2 separate regions of the Homo sapiens genome follow, and region 1 is linked to region 2. The links are contacts of gene promoters, found by promoter capture Hi-C in human tissues and cell types (Jung and others, 2019). All regions are on one chromosome and are shown on one strand. Each heading gives the region's core, a stretch centred on a gene start or on the middle of the fragment in contact. The rest is flanking DNA. Distances are from core to core; before and after follow the strand shown.

The links. Contacts are between HindIII fragments. The study calls those that stand out against the background at their distance.
Region 1: a fragment that was not itself captured here is called in contact with the fragment with the promoter of SLC5A10 in region 2 in 3 of the 25 tissues and cell types used here (dorsolateral prefrontal cortex, liver and spleen).

Annotation. Positions count from the first base shown.
Region 1 is chr17:18,795,292-18,801,325 of GRCh38, forward strand. TVP23B (trans-golgi network vesicle protein 23 homolog B) reads left to right here. Exons shown (of 7, transcript NM_016078.6): 4 at 2,288-2,377; 5 at 3,521-3,652. Among named protein-coding and RNA genes, the nearest start is that of TVP23B, 17 kb to the left of the region's middle. The HindIII fragment of the contact is 3,794 bases long and covers 635-4,428 here.
Region 2 is chr17:18,950,420-18,955,545 of GRCh38, forward strand. SLC5A10 (solute carrier family 5 member 10) reads left to right here and starts at 1,746. Exons shown (of 15, transcript NM_001042450.4): 1 at 1,746-1,897. The coding sequence starts at 1,787. The HindIII fragment of the contact is 13,514 bases long and covers 1-5,126 here.

The sequences.
Region 1 (6,034 bases), core at 1,282-3,781, 150 kb before region 2:
ACATGTGTAAAATACTACTTGTCATCTTCCACTCCCCAAAAGCTCTTCTTCTTTGAGTGTTCCCTTTCGTGGGGCCTGGAATCACTATTTTTTTACTTGAGCAAACCAGAAATGTATCAGTTGCCTCCTTCCTACTCCATATCCAATTAATGACCAAGTCCCATAAATCCATAGATTGTACTTTCTTCATTAGGGCATCAGTGCCTGCTGCTCTATCTGGAATGCTCTTCTTCCTCCCACATCACCTTCATACAGGGATTCCTAATCTTTTTATGCCATGGGTCCCTTTCATAGACTCATGAATAAGTTTTCACATATATAAAGTACATAAGATTTCAAAGGAAGTCACTTATATTGAAATATAATTTAAAAATATTAGAAAAGTAAATTTCTGATTGAGTTATATGTGTAGTAGTTCCCCCATTATCTGAGGTTTCACTTTCTGCGGTTTCAGTTACTGCTATACACTACACTAAACAGTAAGATACTGTGTGAGGAGAGAGAACTACATTCACATAACTTTTATTAGATTATGTTGTTATAATTGTTCTATTTTTATTTCTTATTAATCTCTTACTGTGCATTATTTATAAATTAAGCATTATCATAGGTATGTACTTACAGGAAAAAATATAGCATATATAAGGTTTGGTATTAACCACAATTTGAGGCATCTGCTGGGGGTCTTGGAATGTATCCCCTGCAGATAAGGGAGGACTACTATACTTTATGAATTTATTAATGGTAAGATCTAGTGGCAGGTCTAATAACTACTTTCAAAGCAGTGGTGAGCGTAAACAATATGTTAAGATAACTGCAGCAAGTATAGTACAAAATGAAAAATGTCTGTGGTTTCTATTGTGTCAGGGTGTTTTTAATTTTACCTATATTCATAGTTTGTTGTCTACATTCATAATTTAATGATATGCTAACTACTTTCAAAGCAGTGGTGAGCATAAATAGTATTTTGAGGCCGTGCGTGGTGGCTTACGCCTGTAATCCCAGCACTTTGGGAGGCCAAGGCGGGTGAATCACTGAGGTTGGGAGTTCGAGACCAGCCTGACCAACATGGAGAAACCCCATCTCTACTAAAAATACAAAATTAGCTGGGCATGATGGCGCATGCCTGTAATCCCTGCTACTTGGGAGGCTGAGGCAGGAGAATCGTTTGAACCCGGGAGGCAGAGGTTGCGGTGAGCTGAGATCGCCCCGTTGCATGCCAGCCTGGGCAACAAGAGCGAAACTCTGTCTCAAAAACAAAAAACAAAACCAAACAAAAAACAAAACTACAATATTTTGAGGTAACTGCAGCAAATATAGTACAAAATAAAAAAATGCCTGTGATTTCTATTGTGTCAGGGTGTTTTTAATTTTACCTACATTCATAGTTTGTTGTCTACATTCATAATTTAAAGATATGCTAAATTTTAGCCAGAGGTTAATGAAAATGAAGGTAACATTTTTTTTTAACCCATCGAGGTTCACAGAACCACTGAATCTATTAGTGGACACCATTAATTAAACATCCATGGTACTGTTGATTCTTATTTATCTTTTATATTTCATTCCAAATGTTGACTCCTCAGAGAGTCATTTTCTGATACCCAGACTAGATCCAATTTCCCTGTTATACTCTTCAAGCATCTCACACTTTTCCCTTGCAGGACTTAACTCAGTTGGTAATGGTACATTTGTGCATTGGTTGTCTGCCTCTCTTCACCTCTTTCCCTGAGGAAGGAGTTGGTATCTGTTAGTCACTGTTGTATTACCAGCACATAGTAGATGCTCAGTAAATATTTGTTGAGTAAATAAAGATTAGGAAAGCTATCAAACTAATTTATTACCTTAGTAAGTAGGAAAAGAGCTTGGTAACTTGAGAGACTGACTGAAGGCCAGTGTCTATAATCATTTTCAGGGATATGTAGTTGTAAAATACATGTAGCTATAGTCAGGATGTAAAGTAGGTCACAGTAACCAAATAGCAAGGGGTTTAGGGAAAATTAGGGAACTGGAGAAAGGGCAAATTGTTCATGAGGGAAAAGAGAAGGTGTAATGTTTATGGGTGGACTTGTTGCTTGCTCTGTCACCTCTACCCCTATTAGTCCTGCCATTACCATTTTACTTAATCACTTAGCCAGGCCTGATACATAGTAGTCTTTGCTAACTGGATATTATGGAGGTAAAGCTGAAGGTTTTTGTTTGTGAAATGTTACACTAAGATAGGAGCTTGTGATAGATCTTTAAATAATGCTTTTAAAATGTGCCTGTTTATATTAATCTTCACCAGAATGTCACAGGTAGACTAATGGTTGGCCTACGTTGGTGGAATCACATTGATGAAGATGGAAAGAGCCATTGGGTGTTTGAATCTAGAAAGGTAAAGTGCCTTTTTTGTTTTAAATAATGTTATCAGCTAAATTATTTGTAGACTATATTTAAATACTGGAAGATGAAGTATTCAGAATTAAAAACACTATACCAAATCACTTGGCATGTCAGCACTAAAGGAGATGGCCTTCTAGAATTTAATGCATTTTTCTGTCTAGTTCAGACCAGAAACAAGCAATATACAGAACAGAATCCTTTGAGGGAAGACACTGGGTCTGAGTTCATACAGTGTGCTAAGCTGCCTGTCAGGGATTGCTGATAAAAGATCTCTGTGTTGCCTTTGTTAGTGTCTCCATAAATCCCTCTATGCTCAGCAGATAACTGCTTTTAACATCTTGTTCTGTCTTTGCTCCTGTGGTCGTCTTTCATTTCTGGGCAGGAAAAAGGAGGAGGAGTGCAGCTGGATAGAATATCTGATCGGAGCACTCTATTCCTAAGCTTCTGCCTTCAGGAGCCCTGGGGATCCTGGTCTGTTTTGGGTTAGCCTGCTACACTATAGTGAATATTCACTTTCCTTGTGGAAATAAGTTTTGGAAGCAGAGGACCAAATTCTTGGCGACAGTACACCAAGGGTATTGACAAGTTATTTTAAGAAAGTGGCACTGTGTTCAATGAGCCTGTATTCTTTTATATTATAGAATCTACCTTGGAAACAACTTACCACCCTTGTAACTTCCTGGGTATTGCTAAGACATTTTGATTATTGTCCAGAATCCCTTGATTCCGTTTTTTTTTTTTCCTCTGGACCCTAATTTGACCTTTTAGTCTCCAGAATGATTATAACTGTGATTTCCTTGATCATTGGTAGGAAAGGTATCATTTAGAGCTTCCTTATGAATAAATAGTACAAGTGCAAGAAGAATTGAATAGAATCCTATCAGAGACCACTCTTTACTGTCATGAGTTGTGGTAAACCATCCATCCTGCCCTGAAAATGCAAAATTCTTGAGTTAATATAGATCAGTTCCTAAAATTACAAGAGTGATAGTCATGTATTTTTGGGTTCTAACTTAGGAGTTGGGCTGTGTGTATTAATATTTGAACTTGTGGGTAATATGTTTTTTATTAAACATGTTGAACTTTTTATTGATAAATTTCACAACATGATAATTGAATTTATGTTCTTTTATAGGAGTCCTCTCAAGAGAATAAAACTGTGTCAGAGGCTGAATCAAGAATCTTTTGGTTGGGACTTATTGCCTGTCCAGTACTGTGGGTGATATTTGCTTTTAGTGCACTCTTCTCCTTCAGAGTAAAGTGGTTGGTGAGTATCAGTGTAGAACTTTCAAATAATCCATTAAGATGTCTGATGGTAATCATAGGAAGCAACAACTACAACTGAGTCCTTATCATTAGGGACCTATCTTGAATAGGCAGCTTCATCATGTAATTCCCAAGTTTTGCTTCCCAACTTTACCTTTCTCTATAATACTGGAGAAGAGATCCTAAAAAACCCCTTCCCACCAGTTTTCTAGATTATTAGTGGTCTTTTCTGGAAATAATGGTTGGTAACCTATTGCTGCCTAACAAATCACTCCAAAACATAGTGGCTTAGAGCAACAACAGCCATTATCTCACAGTTTCTATGGGTCAGGATCTTGGGAAGGGCTCTGCTGGGAGATTCTGGCTTGGGGTCTTGAGTAGTTGTAGTCAGACAGTAGTTGGAATGATGGGGGTTGTGAGCCATCTCCTCTTCATGAGGTCCCATGGCCTCTCCACATGTTTTTCCCTGTGCCTTCGTTTGGGCTTCTTCATGGCATGGTGGCCTCATGGTGGTGGGACTGCTTACGTGGCAGCCCAGTACTTCACTTGTGGGGTGTTCTAGCTCGCAAGCTTTTACAATCTAGCTAAGATGTCATAGCATCGCTTCTGCTGCCCACTCACATTCAAGGAAATGGGAATTAGGCTCTGCTCTTGATAAGGAATAAGAAGGTGCTAGAAGACTTTGTGGAAGAGGAGATATTGTTGCTGCTGTCTTTGGAAAATATAGTTTGTCACTTGACCCAATTTGTGAGTCTTACTCTTTTTTATATCTCATATTATTTTTTCTTATTCTATCTTATATCTGATATGAATAAATATTGTGTGAATTTTCACACAATATTTATTGATATCAGATATATTTTGGCCTTAATTATGTTTTTCCTCCTAATTTGTAGTATTTTCTTAGTCCTATTTTGCGATATAGATTCTTTTTTTCTTTGTGTGTGCTCATACATTCATACTTTCCTTCTTTGGATTTGGAAGCTTATTGGAAGCTTATTGTCTTTTTTCAGTTCTTCTGGTAGTTACCTTTAATTACTTTATATGTTTATATCATTACCCTCTTTCATGAATTAGGAAATTTATTCAGTATTTATGGAGTTCCTGCTCTGGAAAATGGGAAACTTTACGCTAATATGGTTTCTTTAACTTCTCCCTCCTCCTACCTCTAGAGTTTTGCTTATTATAGTCTTATTTTAGTCCTTCTAGTGGTTTTCTTTGTAACATTAATTAATGTACTTAAACCTGTTTATTGACTTAATAGACTCTGTTTAGAAAGGGAAGAAAATAAACACTCATATTCCTTCCTATGAGTTTCCTCCTTTCTCTCTTGTTTGTTCCAATGTTATTTTTGTGTTACCAAGTTTTATAATAGTTATCTTTTGAAAACATATTTCTTACTGGTTGTTTAGTCTTTGATCTGTTTTTTAAAAAAGTCGATTCATTGCCTATCACCAGTCTTACTGCAGCTTCTCCTTTTACTTATTGGTTGGCTACATTTTCTTTTGACTCATGTTTAAACATATGAGCCTATTGACTATTCTTAAATGATGACCTGGCTGGATTAATATTCTTGGGTCACAGTTTGTTTCTTTTTGGAAGATGCTATTCCATCATTTTCTTTCACTGAATATCTTGGAGAAGTCTGAGGCCAGGCTTACTTAACCTTTGTAATCTCTCCTCATAAGGTGTTTTTTTTTTTAGTTCATGTAACCCAGATGTATCTGTATTTATCTTTCCATATCAAGTTTTCTGGAGTCTGTGCCTTTCTGACAGGCAGACCAAAGTTTTGCTTGGAATCAGGAAAATTTTTTCTGTTAAATCTTTGCATTTATTTATGTTCTATGGTTTGACCTTTCATTTTGAAGTACCAGTTACGTTTATGTTGGATCATTTTTATTTGTTCTCATCTACTATTTTCTTGTTGCTTTAATTATTCATCTTTTCCTTATTTATTCAGCAATTTTAAGAGTTCACTCTTATGTCAGAGCTGTCTGGAGACACAGGGGGATAAGTTAGGGGACAGTAAACAAGTTGACTGCTCCAGTAGAGCTTATGTTCTAGTGGAAGGTAGACAAACAGTAAAAAATACAACAGGGGATGTTAGTTAATGATACAAAGTAATGGGGTAGAGAGTGCAGAGGAGAGAACAGTAACTATTTTAAGTGCTCAGCTAAGGCTTCTCTCTGTATTTCCTTAGCTTTGTCAGCTCCGTTTTCATCTCCTGTTATCTCACCCTCATGCTTTTTGAGTTCTTTTCTTTAGGTTTTTCTGTAGGGTGAAATAGTCCGAGGAATGCTTTTATTTTGGTGGGGTTTTTTTCTTTTCGAGTAGATTCTTCACCTATCTTCTGTATACTATGCTTCTTTTTTCTTTTTTCACT
Region 2 (5,126 bases), core at 496-2,995:
CCAACGGTCTCAGAGCCAATGCTGCTGGTACAACTACTCTATTAATGGGATAGTTTTGGTAAGTCTGGATCCTCCCAGCTGGGTCCTCCTGATCAGTGCAAAGCAGCCTTTTGTTTTAAAACACATTGCAAGCAATGGCTTGGGAAGTAAACACCATCTGAGGCTCGCTGGCCAGAGGCAAGGGGAGACGGCAGGCAGTTGAGCCTGCCTGAGGGTTCTCTCAGCAGTGACTTCCTTTTTCCCTTCCTTCTTCTGCCTAGTCCTGTATGTGAGGACTATTAATTGTTTTTTGTTGTTGTTGTTGTTTGTTTTGTGAGATGGAGTCTCCCTCTGTTGCCCAGGCTGGACTGCAATGGCGCAGTCTTGGCTCACTGCAATCTCTACCTCCTGAGTTCAAGCAATTCTCCTGCCTCAGCCTCCCAAGTAGCTGGGATTACAGGTGCGTACCACCATGTCTGGCTAATTTTTGTATTTTTAGTAGAGACGAGGTTTTGCCATGTTGGCCAGGCTGGTCTCAAACTCCTGATCTCAGGTGATCCACCCGCCTTGGCCTCCCAAAGGCATGAGCCTCCCAAGGGCATGAGCCACTGCTCCTGGCCGAGGGGATTAATTTTTACCCGCACCTCAGGGTTATTGAGTAACAGGCTGGCTGGGTTTGCAGGCCAGCGTGTTCCTGGTGGCAGCCGCTCACTCATTAACACTTCTGGAAGTGCTGCATGTCTGGTTAAACTGCAAATGCTTTGCAAAGTCACGAGTCATGTCACTGAGCAGAGGCGTGAGACTGCCGGCCAGCCCTGCTGTGTACACTGATAGAATTAGTGAGCGAGCGTCCCACTCTGATGGAATCCAGATGGAACTCGTCACTGTCACTGCGGTGGAGACGGTGGGGCCACATCTGCACTGAATCCTACTCTGCGCCTTCAATGGCTGCGTAATGGCGGATGGCCATTTCCTTGACTAGGATGAGACATTGCCTACTCTGCGTGGCTGCTGTGAGCGTGAAATGGGATCATGTGCGGAACAGCCACGCATGGTCCGTGAAATGGGATCATGTGCAGAACAGCCACGCATGGTCCTTGGTGTGTGACAGATATTGGGTCCCTCTGTGGTCCCAGGCAGACATTGCCCGGGGTGGGGGCCGAATGCATGGTCAAGTTGAGGGGCCTGGGACTGTTTCACGGGTCTAGAAAAAGAAAGCAGAAACGCTGGAAGCAGGACTTTATTGTCCGACATGGGGCTGCCTCTGAGCCTGGGCTGTGTTGGCTGGACGTGAGCCATAATGCAGGTGTCCCCCTCCCAAGCCCTGCTCAGTCCACTCACAGCCCGATGGCCAAGGGAGGACATGGCTGCCCGCCACGGCAGTATCTTCAGAGGTGAGGCGGTTGTCCCTACGCTCTATGCTTCTTATACAAATTAGATATAGGTGAAGCCACCCATTAAGCAACCCAGCCTTTCTGGGACTATTTGGGCTGCCTCCGGGTCCACTAAATGCGGTTCATTTTCCCCAAGCCCCCTCCGAGTTCAAGGAGGCTCCTTCCTTTCCTCCTCCCACTTGCTTCTCCCAGGCTCCCTGACTCCTGCGCTCTGGGATCTGCACCCCACCATGGGGTGAGGAAGCTGAACTGCATGGTGAGGCAGCTGCCCTGCATGCAGCCACATCATGGGCTGGAGATGCCACTGTCCGCTTGGTTTAATGATCAATGAGCTCCCTGCCAGGAAACCCTTTCTGACCTGGTTTGCCCCTCAGTCCCTCGGGCTCATACCTAGTGCCTGCGGCAGGACAGCCATGGCCGCCAACTCCACCAGCGACCTCCACACTCCCGGGACGCAGCTGAGCGTGGCTGACATCATCGTCATCACTGTGTATTTTGCTCTGAATGTGGCCGTGGGCATATGGGTAAGGGGACCTGTGGTGGTGTTGGCCAAGTGGGCTCTCAGGGTTGGTGCTTGGGGTGGGAACCGGGGTCCAGCATGTCCCTGTGGTGTCAGCATTGGTCCCAGCTGGTGGCCTAGTGATCCTTGTGGTCCTCCTCCCAGCCTGGGGTAGACTTGCTTGGAGACCTTGACCAAGCCCGTTTCTCTCTTTGGGTAATGGCGTCTCCATCTGCAAAGTGAGGAGGAGGAAATTCTCTCTAACAGGTAACTGGGCTTTTGTGCTGCTGCCCAGCTGGAGTCCTTGGGTGTGGCCCATCAGCCTCCTGGTCCCAGTCTCCATGGTGTCAGTGACTCCTGTCTGCTTGAACAACAGGCTCCCCGGGATTCCCTGGCTGCACCCCAGAGCTGCTGGATCAGAATCCGGAGGCAGGGAGGGCCCTGGGAACTGGGGGTCTTTATTTTGAACAAGCTCCCTGGGGATTTATGTCCTGTGGCCTAGCCCTAGATCATAAGCCGGTTCTTTCTCCCTTCATAACAGTGAGAAATGAGCAGAGATCTGACCCCACACACAGATTCCAGGGGCAGCGGGGCCCCTGGGGACAGGCTGTTTCATGTGCAGATGGAGAAACCGAGGCTCTGGCCCTGCAGCAAGGGAAGGGCTCCTCTGGTCTATCGTGGAGGCCTTCCTGAGGGAAGGTGGACACAGCCTGGTTCAGGTCACCTGCTCCACGCTTAGCGCCTGGGGATGTTGGGCTCCACTTCTTAAGCCCCAGAGGTCCCCAGCCTGGCATCCCTGAGCCCTGACAGTCTCCTGGGGAGAATGAGTACCCCTTCTTTTTTTTTTTTTTTTTTTTTAACTGAGACGGAGTCTAGCACTGTCACCTGGGCTGGAGTGCAGTGGCACTATCTCGGCTCACTGCAACCTCCACCTCCTGGGTTCAAACAATTCTGCCTCAGCCTCCTGAGTAGCTGGGATTACAGGCGTCCACTACCACACCCAGGTAATGTTTTGTATTTTTAGTAGAGACAGAGTTTTACCGTGTTGGCCAGGCTAGTCTCGAACTCCTGACCTCATGATTTGCCCGCCTCGGCCTCCCAAAGTGCTAGAATTACAGGCGTGAGCCACCGCGCCCGGCCGAGTACCCGTTCTTATCTTCCATAACCCCTGGCCTAAGCACGAAGGCCTGGCAAACAGGAGACTGGTCACGTCCCCTCAGCTTCCTGGGCCTCAGTGTTCTGATCTGTTATATGGAGACACCACCTACCTGGGGTGAGGTCTGCTATCAAGGGGCCCACACAGGACCAGACCTTGCTGCTGCCATTGGTTCTACAGTGGTAGCAGTGGTGGTGGTGGTGGCAGTTGTAGCAGTGGTGATTATAAGAGTAGCAGCCGCAGTCATTAAAATTAATTATCACAGGTTGGATTTCAAAAATCTGAAACCCAAAATCTGGAACATTTTGAACACCAACATGATGCTCAAAGCAAATGCTCATTGGAGCATCTCAGATTTTAGAGTTTTGGGTTGGGGATGTTCAACTGGCAGGTATTCTGTAAGTATCTCCAAATCTGAAAGAGTCCGAAATCCAAAACTTTTCTGGTTTCAAATATTTCGGATAACGGCTCCTCAACCTGTATGTGATTAAATATTAACTCACAAGTAGCCCAGTGCTGGCCATCGGCAAAGCCGAGTTCAAGTCTCGGCTCTGCTCTGTGTACTTAAGTCACTTAATCTCTGTGGGCTTCAGTTTCCTCAAACACGCAATGCGGGTTTCTGTGCAGCCCACATCTCAGGGCTGTTCCAAGGAGCAAGGGTCCAATGGAAGTGAAAATCTGTTGCAAACTGTAACGTGCTATATTCCTGTGACAGTTGGTGGCTAGAATTCAGAGGAGGAGGTGCCCACGTGGGGCAGAACAGACAGTGGAGGGTTTCTGGATGAGGGGAGGTAAGGGCCAGGCAAGATCTGAAGAGGGAAAGAGGAGGGGAGACAAGGCTGTCCTGGCTAGCACGTCTAAGAAAGATGTTCTGGGCACCTGAGGCCAGACCCTTTGTAGCCCAGTGACTTGGGCCACCAGCCCTTGTTGCCCATGACCCACCTCTCCTAGTGAGTCAGCTTGCTGTTTGCAGGCTGGTGCCCCTGGAAGTAGGGCTGTAGGAGTTCTGCCCTGTCCCTCCTAGCAGGCTAGGCTGGCCCAGCTGGGAGCGGCTGGCAAGAGAGCAGTGAGCACATCCAGAAAAGATCAGAACCAGACAGGGAGGATGCTGGAGATGCATCCCACAGGGAGAAGCAGACAGAGCAAGCCAGGCAGGTGCAGCCCTGCAAAGATGTTTAGATGGTGGGCCTGGGAGAGTCTGGCGGGGGCCGGGGGGAGGCCTTTAAGGAAGAGATGTTCCTGGAGGAGGGGACTTTGAGCTGAGCCTTTGCATTCATTAAAGTATCTGTTAACAAGTGACTGAAAACTGCTTTCAAATGAGCTCTAAGAATATAGGAAATGTAGGCCGGGCGCAGTGGCTCATGCCTGTAATCCCAGCACTTTGGGAGGCCTAGGCGGGTGGATCACGAGGTCAGGAGTTTGAGACCAGCCTGGCCAGCATGGTGAAAGCCCGTCTCTACTTTTGTATTATTTTGTGATAATACAAAAATTAGCCAGGCGTGGTGCCAGGCGCCTGTAATCCCAGCTACTCAGGAGGCTGAGGCAGGAGAATTGCTTGAAACCGGAAGGCGGAGGTCGCAATGAGCTGAGATCACGCCACTGCACTCCAGCATGGGCAAAAGAGTGAAACACTGTATCAAAAAAAAAAAAAAAAAAAAAAAAAGAATTCAGGAAATGTAATTGTGTCCAGCAATAGAAAGGGCTTCAGGTGCAGTATGATCCAGGGATTCACAGCATTATTAAGGATACAGCTACACCTCACTTTGGTTCTCTCAGCCTCCATCCATGTGTAGCTCTGTCCTAAGCCCAGCTCCCCTCGTGTCCTGATGTGAAATGACCAGCCCTGCGATTGAGCCTGAGTTGAAATCCAGGCTGCACCACTTGCTAGATGGGTGTGTTTTCATCTCTGAGACCATCAGTTTCCTCATTGGTAACATGGCACCTGCTTCATAGAGCTGTTGCGAGGACTAAGAACTCCACACAGATCAAGAAGTTGAAGCCAACTCTGGCATGGGGGCCTTCGGGGAACCTTAAATGGGTACATGTGGCCCCCAGCAACTGCCAGCAGCCCCCAGAGCCCCAGATATAAGAAGGCAAC